Regions from separate parts of the Homo sapiens genome. Here regions 2, 3 and 4 are each linked to region 1. Evidence: promoter capture Hi-C in 16 types of primary human blood cells and fetal thymus (Javierre and others, 2016). All regions are on one chromosome and are shown on one strand. The core of a region is centred on a gene start or on the middle of the fragment in contact, and the rest is flanking DNA. Distances in the headings are between cores, read along the strand shown.

Region 1 (3,129 bases), core at 63-2,562:
AGCTGCCCAGGCCCGAGCCCAAGCCCGGGGCTTCCCCTTACCCTGGAGAGGCCCAGACTCTTTTTGAAGTTCTTCCTGAGGCTGTTTCTGCAAGTTGTCTACCTGAGAGGTCACTTCTGTACCTACAGTAGACTGCCCGCGAGAAGATGACCTCAGCCTCCTGGCATAGCCTTCCACACAGGCTGCTGGCTGCTCCTTGCTCTTCTTCTTCCTGCCCTTTCGAGCTCTCTGGGAACCTGGTGCTGCATTGGCAGGTGGGTTCTGAGGCTCCTTGGGCACCACCGGCTCCACGACCTCCCTGGGCTTCAATAAGCAGGCTGAGTCCAGCTTCTCCTCTGAGTTCAATGACAACCCCTCTTTCTCAGAGCAGAGGGTTACCTTGGGCACAGCAGCCTCTGTCTCTGACTCCAGTGTAGGCATAAGCAGCTGCAAGGCAGAACTAGTCTCTAGCGAGTCATCCAGGAGCACAGGCCGGGGTCCAGGAGAGACCTGTCGCACCACAACTGGGATCTCCAGGTCATCGCCAGCTGTGGCTGCCTGCCCCACAATCTCCAGCACTACGCAGCCCTCAGGCAGTGTCAAATCATCTGGCTGCTCCTGAAGCTCATCCTCAAGTGATGCCAGGTGGGTGAGGTTGGGCAGGCAGTATGGGTGCATGGCCCGCACCAGCTCACTCAGGGAGGAGATGCTCTCATCACCAGCTGCTGGCACTGCCATCTCTGCTGCTGTTGCTTTATCTTCCTCCTCAGGGCAGGCCAAATGCATGGGGAAGTCCGGGATACTGCTCACACAGTTGTCAAGCTCCCCGGCAAGAATCTGGCCACTGAAGCTGGCCACCTCCTCCTCTTCTTCTCCATCACTGCGCTGCTGGGGAGGTGGGGATTGGCCCCAGCGTGGTCTTGATCTTGGGGGTCTCCAGCTAGGAAGCTTGGGGGAAGAGGTCTCTAAGAAAGAGGGTGGGGAGAAGTCCCAAGAGGGATCTGGAAGAGACATTTCAACCTGCAGGAGAGAAGAGAGGTCTCAGGAGGAGTTTTCTTTGGGAAAGTATTTTCCAGACCTGTCCCCACACACTCCTCCTCCCACCTGGGAGTTTCTGAAACCCTCTAGGTCAGGCTTACCCCACTCCCTCTACTGCTGCCTGTACTGGGCCCCAGTGGGTCAACTGGGGTGATGAGGTCACGTTCTGGGGGTGTCCGAGAGAGAGTAAGCAGCTTGTGCAGCTAAGAGGGAAAGAAAGACCTGAGATCAGTCTATGCTTCAGAGCTATATGAGTAGGTCCACAGGCATGGGTCTAAACTTTGTACTAATCCCCTTCCCCTGGTCCCACACTCACAGAGGAGCCCTCCCGGGGTGACACAAGCAGCTCCGAATCAGGAATGCTGTCAAATGGAGAAAGGTTCTCAGAATCTGCATTGTCCAAGATCTCCGTCAGAGCCGTGAGCAGCGACACTTCATTCTGGTCCTCCAGAGATAACCTGCTCTGCTCCAGAAAAACAACCAGAAGGTCCTACCAACATCCCTAATGACCTACTATGCCACTAAGGACTGGATATCGAGAGAATCAGTCTCCCAGGTTCAACTCAGCTAATGGGGCAGCGAGAAGGATCTGAATACCAGAAGGCATGGATTCCAATCTCAGCTACCATCCACCAGCTCTTGGTGTCAACAGAGACCTGTCAGACTTGACTCAAGCTTGGGTTTCACACATTCCCCTACCCTCAGATAAGATGTGGGATGCTCAGCAGACAACCATCGGCTAGGCTAGAAATGAGCTGAAAAACAGAGATCAGAATCCTCTGGACATGTAGTTCAGGGGCCCAGACAGTGGGAAAGGCCTTGGACTATAGTCTAAGCTAGGAAAGGAATTCTTACATGGGACATAATCTGGCAGCCTGCAGCCTAATTCCCACTTAGAGACAAAAAATACACTTCAAGGATTCAGGTTGGGCACCCAGGAAGAAGCTAAGGTCCTGGGAGAGCAGAGCCATGCCAAGAATTTGAGCTAGAACCTCCCATGTAAACCTCCTGCTTGAAGATTTCAGAGTCCAGCCCCAGCTCACCTCTCCAAGGCTCCCAAAATCCTCAATGAGGGAGATAAGGGAGGCATCCATGTAGCTCTGCATGGTCCCCAGCAGTGTCTCATCCTGCAGCATTAGCTCCTCCATTTCCAGGTCCTTGTCCCTCAGAGATGGGCCCAGCCGAGAGAGACTGACAAAGCCAGAATCACCCGCCTCCTCATGCAGCAGCACCTGGAGCAGAGAAGAAGGTGAGAAGGGTATGAGCTCTCTGGCAGCAGCTGATAATATGCTCCATAAATCAGGTACCCTCCACTGCTGGGGCCAAACTCAGCAGCAGCAACACTGTCGCCAAACTTCTGGGCTAGCAGAGCAGAGAGAAGCACAACCTATGAGCAAAAACCCCAATAAGGATGGCAGTTTTCAGGGACCTTCTGGGGCAGAAAAATGTTTGGGCTCCAACCAGAAACAGCTAGAGTCACAGATTAAAACCCGGGAGTAAAAACATCAGGAAAATCAAGATTGTTCAGAATCATCTACTGGCAGCAGTGAAGATAACAGTCTGAGGGGCACACCAAAGCAAAAGAGGTCAGCAAGGAGACAGCTTCAGCTCCAACAACCTCACCTACCTCAAATCCCATTTAGTTCTCTGCTTAGTGCAAATCCTACCTTCTTCAAGAAGACACCCCAGCTTCCCCAGCCCACGGTGATCTCTCCTCACAACTCTAAAATCACAGACTTTTCTGCAGCATTAACTTTTCTGGTAATCACACCCCACCCCCTACCCCCATCCCCATGACACTCATGGGTTCGGTCTCCTGGGTTCAAGCGATTCTCCTGCCTCAGCCTCCGGAGCAGCTGGGATTATAGGCGCCCACCACCACGCCCAGCTAATTTTTGTATTTTTAGTAGAGACAGGGTTTCACCTTATTGGCCAGGCTGGTCTCAAACTCCAAATCTCAAGTAATCCGCCCGACTCAGCCTCTGAAAGTGCTGTGATTACAGGCGTGAGCCGCCACGCCCGGCCGACACTTATTTTGAAGGCCCAACAGTGAGACACTCAACCTCTCAATGGTAATTCCAAGGGAAGGGCCTCTTCTCCACTCCTACCAGA
Region 2 (3,441 bases), core at 765-3,264, 290 kb before region 1:
TGGGCAAAGCGACGCGAATGTGCCCCTTCCTTCCCTGCTACCTCCCCCAAGCAGCCAACATCTTGCTGTCTCTGAGGCCAGAAGAGGAAGGAGGCTGTTGTGAGGACCAGAGGTGGAAGAGAAAGCAATAAGCAGTCATCCCGTTTTCTCCATAGTTTCTTCTTCTTCCTTCTCCTTCTTTTCTTCTTCTTTTTTTTTTTTTTTTTTTTTTTTGAGACAGGGTCTTGCTTTGTCACTCAGGCTGGAGTGCAGTAGCACAATCACGGCTTACTGCAGCCTTGACCTCTGGGGCTCAAATGATCCTCCCACCTCAGTCTCTGGAGTAGCTGGGACTACTGGCGTGTGTCACCATGCCCAGATAATTTTTTATTTTTTAAATTTTTTGTAGAGACGAGGTTTTGCCATGTTGCCCAGGCTGGTCTCAAATTCCTGGGCTCAAGCGATCCTCCCACCTCAGCCTTGCAAAGTGCTAGAATTACAGGTGTGAGCCACTGCAGCATAGTATCTTGGCACTGCCTTAGTCCCTAGGAGAGAGGAAAGATGGGACTTCTCTCTTGGACTGTGAGCTCCCTGAGGGCAGGGACAGCTTCCGGGTCCCCAGCACCCCACGAAGGAACTAGCACTAAAAAGGGCTCATCCCTGCTGATGGGGGATGGGAAATTTTATCCTTGAAGGGGACTCTTCCCCTTGTGACCCATTTCAGGGTTCCCAAGAGGGGAGGGCTGTGGGGCTTCCCCACAGGGCAGCACCGGGAATCTGTGGCAGCAGGAACAAAAAGAGGAAGTTGAAGTCTTGTTGGGCCCTGGAGTTCAGCTCTCCTGTCCTAGACAAGCAGCCCTGCCAACATGGGGGATGAAGGCCCCGGGGGGTAGGCATGGTCTACAGGCTGTCCATGACAGGGCTCAGGTGGATCCTCATCCTGGCACCTGCTACCACTCCACCTCTCCCAGACCACGTCCAAAATCCCAGGCTCCACCCTCCGGAGACACAGACCTGTAGCTCACCCCAATCTAGGGGAGACATTGCTGTTAAGGGAATGCAAAAGGTACAGACAGGGTGGGGAAGTCAGTACCTAAGAGACCAGCCTGGGCCACGTGGCAAAAACCCTGTCTCTACAAAAAAAAAAAAAAAAAAAAAAATTAGCTCGGCGTGGTGGCACGCGCCTGTGGTTCCAGCTACTCCAGAGGCTGAGATGGGAGGATCACTTGAACCCAGGAGGTCGGGGCTGCAGTGAGCCATGTTCGCACTCGTGAACCTGCACTCCAGCCTGGGGCTGTAACAGCAAGAAAAGAAGAAAAAGAAAGAGAAGGAAGGAAGGGAGGGAGGGAAAGAAAGGAAAATAAAGAAAGAAGAAAAGAAAAGAGGCCAGGCGCGGTGGCTCATGCCTGTAATCCCAGCACTTTGGGAGGCCGAGGCAGGCGAATCACGAGGTCAGGAGTTTGAGACCAGCCTGGCCAACATGGTGAAACCCCGTTTCTACTAAAAATACAATAAATTATCTGGGCGTGGTGGCGCGCGCCTGTAATCCCAGCTACTCGGGAGGCTGAGGCAGGAGAATCTCTTGAACCCGGGAGGCGGAGGTTGCAGTGAGCCGAGATCGCGCCACTGCACTCCAGCCCGGGAGACAGTGCGAGGCTCCCTCCCAAAAAAAAAAAAGAAGAAGAAAAGGAAAAAAAAGTGAGAGAGAGAGAGAGAGAGAGACGAGAAAAAGAGAGAGAGAAAGAAAGAGAAAGGTTTCGGGTCTCTGACGGATGAGAAGGAACAAGACGGGGATGCAGTCCTACCCACTTCGACTCCACCCCCTCTCAAGACCTTCACGCCTAACGCCTCCCTACGCGCAACAAAACTGGCCGCCAAGGGAGCCCGTCCATAGCCCTGGGACGTTAGAGAATTAGAGCAGGAGCTCCGCCCTGTTGTGGGCAACTTGCCCTTCTCAAACATGGCCGCCACGGCGCCTCTGGAAGGGAACCGCTCTGGGCCCCGCCTTTGATCTCGTTGGTGGGGCTGGGGGATGAGAGCTGCACCGCGCGGGACAAGTCGCCGGCGGCGCCCGACGGAGCAGGTGATTTCCCCTCCTGCCCCCGGCCCAGGGCTAGGAGAGTCGCGGAGAGCGCTGACCCAGGGTACCCGTCCGATGTGTTCCCCCACGGTACCCCCCCCGGGGCCCGTCGGACCCCCATCTCTGATTCTCGCCGTGGCCTGTATCAAGGCACATCCAGTTTGCTCAGGCCTGCCTCGTCATGTGTCCTCCAAGGCCACAGCCGCATCCCTGTGCCTTCGGGCCCACTATTCTGGACGCTTACGGGTGTCCCGCTAGCGGGTTTAGGGAGCTGCTGCTTCAGGGGTCGTCCATCATCGCGGTCCCACTTCCTGTGCTCGCCCTCCCTGTTTGTGCTCCCGCCTGACTTTGGATGCAGGGATCCCTTGTTCCCCTCAATGCCCTTGGTGCCTCTAAGGTCTGACTTGGGTATCAGAGGACAATGATATCCTCTGGGGCCTGCGTTATGGGTCCAGGGCCTCAGGAACCGGGCTTCACAGGGGCTGGGAGAAGCAGTGAAGACCTTCCATGCTAGACCCCTTGCTGCCTCCCTGAGAAGTTCGCTAGGACTCCTTTCACACTAGCTCCCAGGATTCCTCCTCCCACATGGCCTGCTCTCCCTCCACTTTAAGCACCTCCCCACCCCAAGGGAGCAGCATAGTACTTCTTACCCCACTCTCACTTAAATTTGTCCACAGTGTCTCTATCTAGCATCTGGAGGGTCCAGGCCTGTGCTGCCCTTGGGAAGCTCCCAGGCTAGCTGGGAGCAGTGAAGGTGGGGCAGTTAGGGTTGGCTGCAGAAAGGGAGTCCTGCAGAATGAGATTTGGAGAGGCAGAGGGACAGATGCTCTGGGCTGGGAGAGTGGTGTGAGCAAAGATTCTGAAATAGACAATATAGCCAGCCAGGCAGGAGAGGAGATTCAGAATATAGGATGGGGCCACACAATTTGCATCGTGAGAGGTGATGTAGTGTGGTGGTTAACAGTGAGGGTTCTGGATCCAGACAGCCTGGGTGTAAATCTGCCATTAACTTGCCTTGTGACCTTGGGCAAGTTACTTAACCTCATAGTGCCTTCATTTCCTTTCAGGTAAAATGTGGATAATACGGCCGGGCGCGGTGGTTCATGCCTGTAATCCCAGCACTTTGGGAGACCGAGGCGGGTGGATTGCCTGAGGTCAGGAGTTCGAGACCAGTCTGGCCAACATGGTGAAACCCCGTCTCTACTAAAAAATACAAAATAAATTTGCCAGGCATGGTGGCATGCGACTGTAATCCCAGCTACTCAGGAGGCTGAGGCAGGGGAATTGCTTGAACCAGGGAGGTGGAGGTTGCAGTGAGCTGAGATCGCACCACTGCACTCCAGCCTGGATGGCAGAGCGAGACTCCGTCTCAAAAATACATA
Region 3 (3,365 bases), core at 314-2,813, 370 kb before region 1:
CTAAAAGGAGAGGTAACCAGCAAAGATGTCCACTTGCCCCTTCAGGTCTACCCTTTGGCTACACCCCCAAGCAGCTGCAGAACAGTCTTTCAAGACTCATTGAAGATCATCTTACACAATGCCTGCATGAATGTGGTCCTGGACAGTTTCAACCAATATCTCAGTTTTTGGTCCAGCAAGACTTTGAGGACAGGTTCTTTTCCAGAGTCCCCAGAACATCTGTTCTGCCCAAATGCTGAAGGAAGAAACAGGCTGCAAACAGGAATGGGAAATTAGAAAAGACCATTCCTACCCTAAAGCTACTTGAGGGTTACTCTCAGCTCCCCGGAGAAACTGCAGGCCATGGCCGAGAAGCTCCTCTTAATGTCCCACTGCACAATTCCTCCCTGCTGGGGTCCCAGAGTCTCCACCATTTATTTCCAACTGGAGGTGGGAAGCTGTCGGCCCCTTCAATCCTAAGCCAAACCATGGTTCTCTCTACCTAATGCCCTAAAGCGAAGCAACTGCAGAGCTAGGAGGAAGCTCTGCACGGAGAAAGAGAACAGTGCAGAGTAAGCAAAAAGTTTATCAGGAAGAGCTGCTCCGTCAAACTTCAAAAGCAAAAGCTTTGCCCTGATACGACGTCTGAGCTAATCGGGAAGGTATCAAAAGGAGACCTCCTCCTCTCTCCACAAGCACCAGGCCCTCATCTTTGGCCCTCCTACCCACCACAGGAGAGCCCTGGGCCCCCCGAACCCCCCATTCTATGCAGTCTCGTGCCCTCTGAGCTTCTTCGGCTTCGCTCCTCCAAAGCCCTCTCAAATGCTCCCCAGGCCCCGCCTCGCCTCTCCCATCCCACTTCGGCCGCCCCCGCTTGGCTTCCCCTCGCCCACTAATGACCCCCTACAGGCGCCCCCTCTTTTCACCACGTTTACAGTTCCCTCGCTCCTGCCGTTCCCCCCTCTGCTCCTACACACACCCCCAGTCCTCACTCTATTCTCCTAATCCCGGTTAACCCCTCAGTACCCACGGGCTCCGTTAACCCCTTTGTCCCCATTCCCAACTTGAGCCTTAACTCCTTCCCTCGCAGCAAGAAGCCCTCCTTCTGAGTGCTTTAACCATTCTCTACCCCTCCTCCCACCTCCCACAAATTACTTCGCCCTCGGCGCTTTAACCCTTTCCAGCCCGCGCCTGTCCGTCTCCCCGCGGCCCAGAGCATACCAGTACTTGACGATAGCGGTAACCTGGAGCGGGTTCGGCTGGTCAGGGTAAAGGCGGCGGCACTCTCCGTAGATGGCGTGCAGTCCCGGGGGAAAGAGCGAAGCGAAGGCCGGGGGGGCAGTCGGGCCAGGGGCCGGGGGCGCGGTGGGGCCGGGGGCGCCGCTAGGCCGCAGCTCCGCCATCGGGGTGCGTAGGGCAGGCACTGGGGGAACTGGAGAGGGCAAACGACGGGGAGAGCACTGACGGGCCAGCGGGCGGACTCGGTGGGTGAGACTCCCCGAGGCGATGGGGGCTGCAGCGAGGTCTAGCTCCGCGCCTGCGCACGGCGCACTGTCCGCCCAGGCTGTCGCCGCCGCCGAGTCTGCCAGAGGGTGCCTCGGGGCGGCGGGGCGCTAAGGGGGGCGGGGCGCCGGCGCACCCTATCCAAGCACCCATTGGCTAATGTCTGTGCCAGTCACAGGCAGGGAAGGTGTGACTTGACAATAGGCCCCGCCTCCCCTCCCTGTGTTGGGAGTGTCCCAAGGCTCTTGGTCTCCCCCTAGTGTTAGGAGGAACCCAAGTTTAGAGATGCTGAGCACCCTCTGAGGTGCTAAGGTCCCACGAAAGCAGCGAGAAGTGCGCCAACAAAGGATTTGTTACTGTTTTGCTGACGCGCTGCTAACTAGGATTTAAACATAAATCTGACAATGGATTGATTCATTCATCCATGGGGCGTTAGTATTAATAGATGATAATAAATCTAATGTTTTCTAGGGCTATTGACAAAAAGGTCCCTGAAATTTCAAGGGGGCTGGGGGAGAACATAATCCAGAGAAAAAAATGCACTGGGCTCATTTGAAAGCAGTGACACATAACCTCTCTTCACCTCCATTTTCTCAACCATCAGTGTCAATTCTAGCTCGTTATGAAAATTAAAGAGATACTCGAGCAGTTTCTGAAACCCTTAGATGATGTTTTAATGACCAAAAGATTACCTATACCAGTAGTTCCAATTGCCAATCTTCGGATCAATGTTAGCCTGTTATGCAGAAAAAAAGAAAATGCAAAAGGCAACGACAATGTACAGGTTTTTAAACTTAAAGCTAATTTTATGCAATTTAAATTGTTTTCCTTTGTTGTAGGAATATGTCCTCTCGCGTACGTGTGTTAACATTTCCTTTTTGTTAGAGTGTGAGGTGCTAGGAGATGTTTATTAAAGTCTTACAGACCCAAATAAAAACATGAGAACCTTATATTGTCTAAGGGAACGTCGGGGGGAGTGGCAGGGCTGATCTGCAAAATCCAAACATCCATGAATTACGACCAATCCAAACCGAACTACAGACAAGTACTCGAGAAGACTACATACCTCAGCATGCACTGCGAACTCCTTCAAAGGGACTACAGATCCAGGCATGCAACATGACCATCAACCTGTGTCTCTGGCTGTTTAATCTAGGGAGACCACAAATCCCAGGGTACTGCGCATTGGAAATGCGACTCCCAATCTTAAACTAGGCGGGCAACAAAGCAAGCTAGATCGCTAACCCAGGCGCAAAGCTTGCTGGGGATTGTAGTTCTTCAGAGGCGAGGTCGGGCCGCTCCCTCGCCGCCCTGAACCGGCGGCTAGACTGCGCATGCGTGTCAGTGGCGCTAGCGGCGGACCCGGCTGGGCAGTTCCTTCCCCAGAAGGAGAGATTCCTCTGCCATGGAGTCCTACGATGTGATCGCCAACCAGCCTGTCGTGATCGACAACGTGAGTTGCGTCTTTCCTATCTATAAGGGGACTTGGGCTCTCCTCCTCGAAAGGATCGCTTCCCGGGGTTCAGCCTGAGCCGCCGGCTCTTTGTCACTGGCCCGGCCTGTCAGGCGCGTTCAGCCACCGCCGCCTCCTTCCTCCCCTTATCACATAGTCCGCAGGCAAGGCGGCCAGCCAGCAAAAGTGGGATGGAGAACTCTGGAGTGGATAAAGGAAAGAGTTATAGTCCAAGCCAGTCCTTGGGCCCTTGGCTCTAGGGGCCTTAACCGCTGTGTGAGATTCCCGTCGCCCGCCCTCTCCCCCATTTCCGATCGCTCTATTGGTTGCTCTGGCTGTCCATCTTAGCCAATGATACCGCCTCTTAGCCTTGCCGGATGAGGCTAGGCCTCTGCGGTGATTGGCTCACGCCCCTGCCATTCTTCCTTGC
Region 4 (3,095 bases), core at 552-3,051, 260 kb before region 1:
GACCCCTGGGCTTCTCCCTCCCTGCTCCTTCCATGAGCACCTCCCATGACCCACCCACCCCCTGCACCCATACCCGACCCACCCCCTGCACCCATACCCGTAAGGCCCTGGGGCCTAGAGCGGAGCCGCTGCCTCTGAAGTTTTTGTATCATAGTCCCCATCATGTTCTTCTTAGTCACATGCAGGACACCCAGGTTGTTAAATCTGAGAAGAGAGAATCGGAGGCCTTTGGCCATGCAGTTCTTTCTTCCTGAGGCACCTTTCCCATTGCCAGGGCTCAGCTCAGCCTTACTTCCTCAAGGAAGCCATTGGAGTTTCTACTTAGGCCCTTGGGTTTGGGGCCAACCTACATCTTTCCCCTTGGTCAGATGCTAAGCTCATGGAGGTGGGCTGGGGCCTGGGACTGGCAGACGGGCATACCAGTGGGGGCCAGGCGTAGAGGGCACCTACTGGGCAGTCATGTCCTTGGGCCCCACAGAAACGGCGCAGATCCCCAGCTCCGAGCATTGCTTGCCCACCAGACTGTGGGCATGAGCACGAGGTGGGTCACTGTGTGTTACCAGGTCCACCTCGATCTTGGCTGGTCCCTCGTAGTTACAGATCTAGGAGAGGCAGGGACTGTCAGTCAGGGCCTTGGGCATGCTGTCCACTTAGCCCACCCTCCAGCACCATCCTGGCTCACCTTGACAGTGGGATAGGTCTTTCGGCCCTTCTCACTGGAGGCACCGGGCAGTCCTCCATGGGAGGGGCCTTCACAGCCATATCGAAATCGGAAGCCTCTCTGAAGGTCCAAGGGCATAGTAGCATTGTGATCAGGGAAGACCACCCAGGCCAGCAGTGACCGCAGTGCCTGGTAGTAGCCCTGAACCAAACTACAGCACTCTGATCAGCAGCAGTGACCATCCAATCCCCTGTGGCCTCCTTCGGCAATGGCTCCTCCATGGCCAGCCAGCTACCACTACCCCATTTGTCCCCAAAGCTGAAGCCATTCCACACCCTCCCTTTTGCTCACTCACCTGCTTAGGCTGTTCCACGATCACCAGGTAGGGGCCATCAGCTGGGGACAGAGAGACCTTGCTGAGCCACGATCTCCCAGCCCCTCCCCCAGAGAGAGGGCACATGCTCTCCCTCCCCCGCTTTAGGACTAGGGGAGGTTAGTGAACTTGCTGACCTGTTTCTGGGGCTGGCTCCTTGGGTTCCACAATGGAGGAGTTCAATTTGAAATCATCATATTCAATAATACCATCCAGACCCTGGTTTGGAGACAGACTGGGGGTGGCATCCGACTCTCAGCACCCCCCACAGCCCCACCTCCCATCTCCAAGTCTTCAGTGGTCACTCCCCCCTCCTCCTCAGACCCAAGAGAAAGCTCCTTTTGGAGGCAGAGTTGCAGACAGATGGACAGACTGGCAGGCTGAGAGCATCTGCGAGCATACAGGTGTAAGGCAGCAGAGGGGGCTCGGGCAGACAGGTGGACAGACACGAGGGGCAGCCGGCCGGGTCAGGGGCAGGCGGCATGACTCACTGGGTTGTAGCAACTCTCCATGTCTCTGGGCTAGGCCCGGCTCTGTCTAGTGGCTCCGGCCAGGTTCTGCTTCCCAGAATTTTAGACGCCCGCCTAAAGTTGGGAGGAGTGGCGTGGGGGAGGGGGTCAGATCTAAATGGGGGTGGGCGGGAGATGGGGGCCCAGATTTGGGGGAGGGTCCGACCTCCTCCAGCCGCCTGTCCGGGTGTGGCGGGTGAGATCCGGTGGAGAGCGAGATCCGGAGTTGGGCTTGGCCGGGGAAGGGGCAGGAAAGTTAGAGCAGCTTAGGAAAGTCCCGAAAATACCAAGGGGAGGCGGGGCCGGAGGGGGCGGGCCTGGAAATGACGCCACTGGCCCCGCCCTCGCGACGGGAGGGGCGGGAGGCCCTCGACAGTCTACGGGCTCCCGCTGCTTTTCAGCGGGCAGAGGTCTAGGAGAATCCGGGAAGCCCCGGTGGGGGTTAAGCCCCCTCCTCCCTCCAGGGCAGGGAACAGGAGGGTCTTTCACGGCCGGGAGGAGGCTGGCAGTCTGGGGCCAAGTCCGCCTCCCGCTCCCCTCCCCCGGTCTGGAGCAACCTTGGGATTTTCTGCCAGGAGGGAGGCCACGGCTGATAAACCCCGGGGGCTTTTGGGGGGACATTCCTGCTGTCGGACGGCCTCCCCTTCGAACAGCCTGTAGGCGGGGGCTCTTTCCTGTGGGAGGCCCCGGGGTTCTGCCCCGAGAACGCGATTCTGGGGCTGCGGGAAAAGTGTCTCCTCCTCGGAGTGGGCTCTTTTCTCTCTCTCCCAAACCTCACAACAGCAGCTGGTCCCACACCGCACCGGTTCTGGGCGCGCAGGCGACAGGGAGATCTCTGCACGCTCCCCCCCCCCCCCCCCCACCTAATACAAGAGTGTGTCTCCATCACAGCTCCACAAGTGTGTTTCGGCTGTAGTGCTTGGTTGCATGTTGTGTGTCCATGGCGTCAACATGAGTGTGCAAGCGAGCATGTGTGTAGATAGGTGAATCCCGAGCTTCTCAGTGTGGGTGTGTGTCAGCGCCTGTCTTGATGTACGGACACGGGTGAGCGTATCTTGAGTTTGTGCGTGAAGGGTGTGGGTGCAGGCACCAGTGCACCGGTGGGCACGTCTCCGTGTGCATGTGTGTGCGAGTGCGACTGCACGGACGCTGCCGTGTGTGCGCCAGCACAGGTACAGGTGTACGTACGGGTCCGCGTATCTTTGTACAACGGTGTCGACGTGGATCCGAGTGTCGTCGCCTGCGCGCCCTTTCCGGCTGTGTGCAGCTGCTGCTCTCCAGCCCCAGGCGCTGTCCGCTAAAGGCCCTCCTCCCTCTTTTCTCTTGTCCCGGCCACCCAGGGGTCTGAATCCAGCCACTCACCGTGGCGGCGGCTCTGGTTGCGGCTTCTCTCCGCGCCCGACCCACCTGGGACCGGTCGCGACACCTCGCCTGCCAGCAGGGCTCAGGGCCGGGAAAGCCCCTTCTCGGCCCCCCGGAGGGGGGAATTCCCATGACGTTTCCGTGCGTCACGCCTCGCGCCCTTTTTCATTGGCTGAAAGTTTAACTCTGG

The links. The method cuts DNA at HindIII sites, captures the fragments that hold promoters and counts their contacts. A CHiCAGO score of 5 or more calls a contact.
Region 2: a contact is called between the fragment with the promoter of CUEDC2 here and a fragment that was not itself captured in region 1, in 1 of 17 cell types (endothelial precursors). The highest score is 5.8, in endothelial precursors.
Region 3: a contact is called between the fragment with the promoter of SUFU here and a fragment that was not itself captured in region 1, in 1 of 17 cell types (activated CD4 T cells). The highest score is 7.1, in activated CD4 T cells.
Region 4: the fragment with the promoter of NFKB2 here is called in contact with a fragment that was not itself captured in region 1 in 3 of 17 cell types (endothelial precursors, M1 macrophages and activated CD4 T cells); the score reaches 7.9 in endothelial precursors.

The regions. Positions count from the first base shown.
Region 1 is chr10:102,136,970-102,140,098 of GRCh38, reverse strand. PPRC1 (PPARG related coactivator 1) reads right to left here. Exons shown (of 14, transcript NM_015062.5): 2 at 2,061-2,249; 3 at 1,334-1,480; 4 at 1,119-1,220; 5 at 1-999. Among named protein-coding and RNA genes, the nearest start is that of PPRC1, 5.5 kb to the right of the region's middle. RefSeq lists an enhancer at 662-1,861. The HindIII fragment of the contact is 765 bases long and covers 930-1,694 here.
Region 2 is chr10:102,431,147-102,434,587 of GRCh38, reverse strand. It overlaps CUEDC2 (CUE domain containing 2), which reads left to right and starts at 2,014. Exons shown (of 9, transcript NM_024040.3): 1 at 2,014-2,062. RefSeq lists enhancers at 379-1,012, 1,013-1,648, 1,580-1,749, 1,920-2,049. The HindIII fragment of the contact is 11,516 bases long and covers 1-3,441 here.
Region 3 is chr10:102,502,170-102,505,534 of GRCh38, reverse strand. It overlaps SUFU (SUFU negative regulator of hedgehog signaling), which reads right to left and starts at 1,563. Exons shown (of 12, transcript NM_016169.4): 1 at 1,201-1,563. The coding sequence starts at 1,382. It overlaps ACTR1A (actin related protein 1A), which reads left to right and starts at 2,823. Exons shown (of 11, transcript NM_005736.4): 1 at 2,823-2,935. The coding sequence starts at 2,888. RefSeq lists enhancers at 1-376, 2,845-2,944 and silencers at 669-963, 1,278-1,747, 2,425-2,494. The HindIII fragment of the contact is 2,134 bases long and covers 608-2,741 here.
Region 4 is chr10:102,394,411-102,397,505 of GRCh38, reverse strand. It overlaps NFKB2 (nuclear factor kappa B subunit 2), which reads right to left and starts at 1,801. Exons shown (of 23, transcript NM_001322934.2): 1 at 1,710-1,801; 2 at 1,526-1,618; 3 at 1,172-1,253; 4 at 1,017-1,057; 5 at 683-781; 6 at 451-602; 7 at 98-204. The coding sequence starts at 1,546. RefSeq lists enhancers at 1,206-1,325, 1,736-1,785, 2,836-3,095. The HindIII fragment of the contact is 5,152 bases long and covers 1-3,095 here.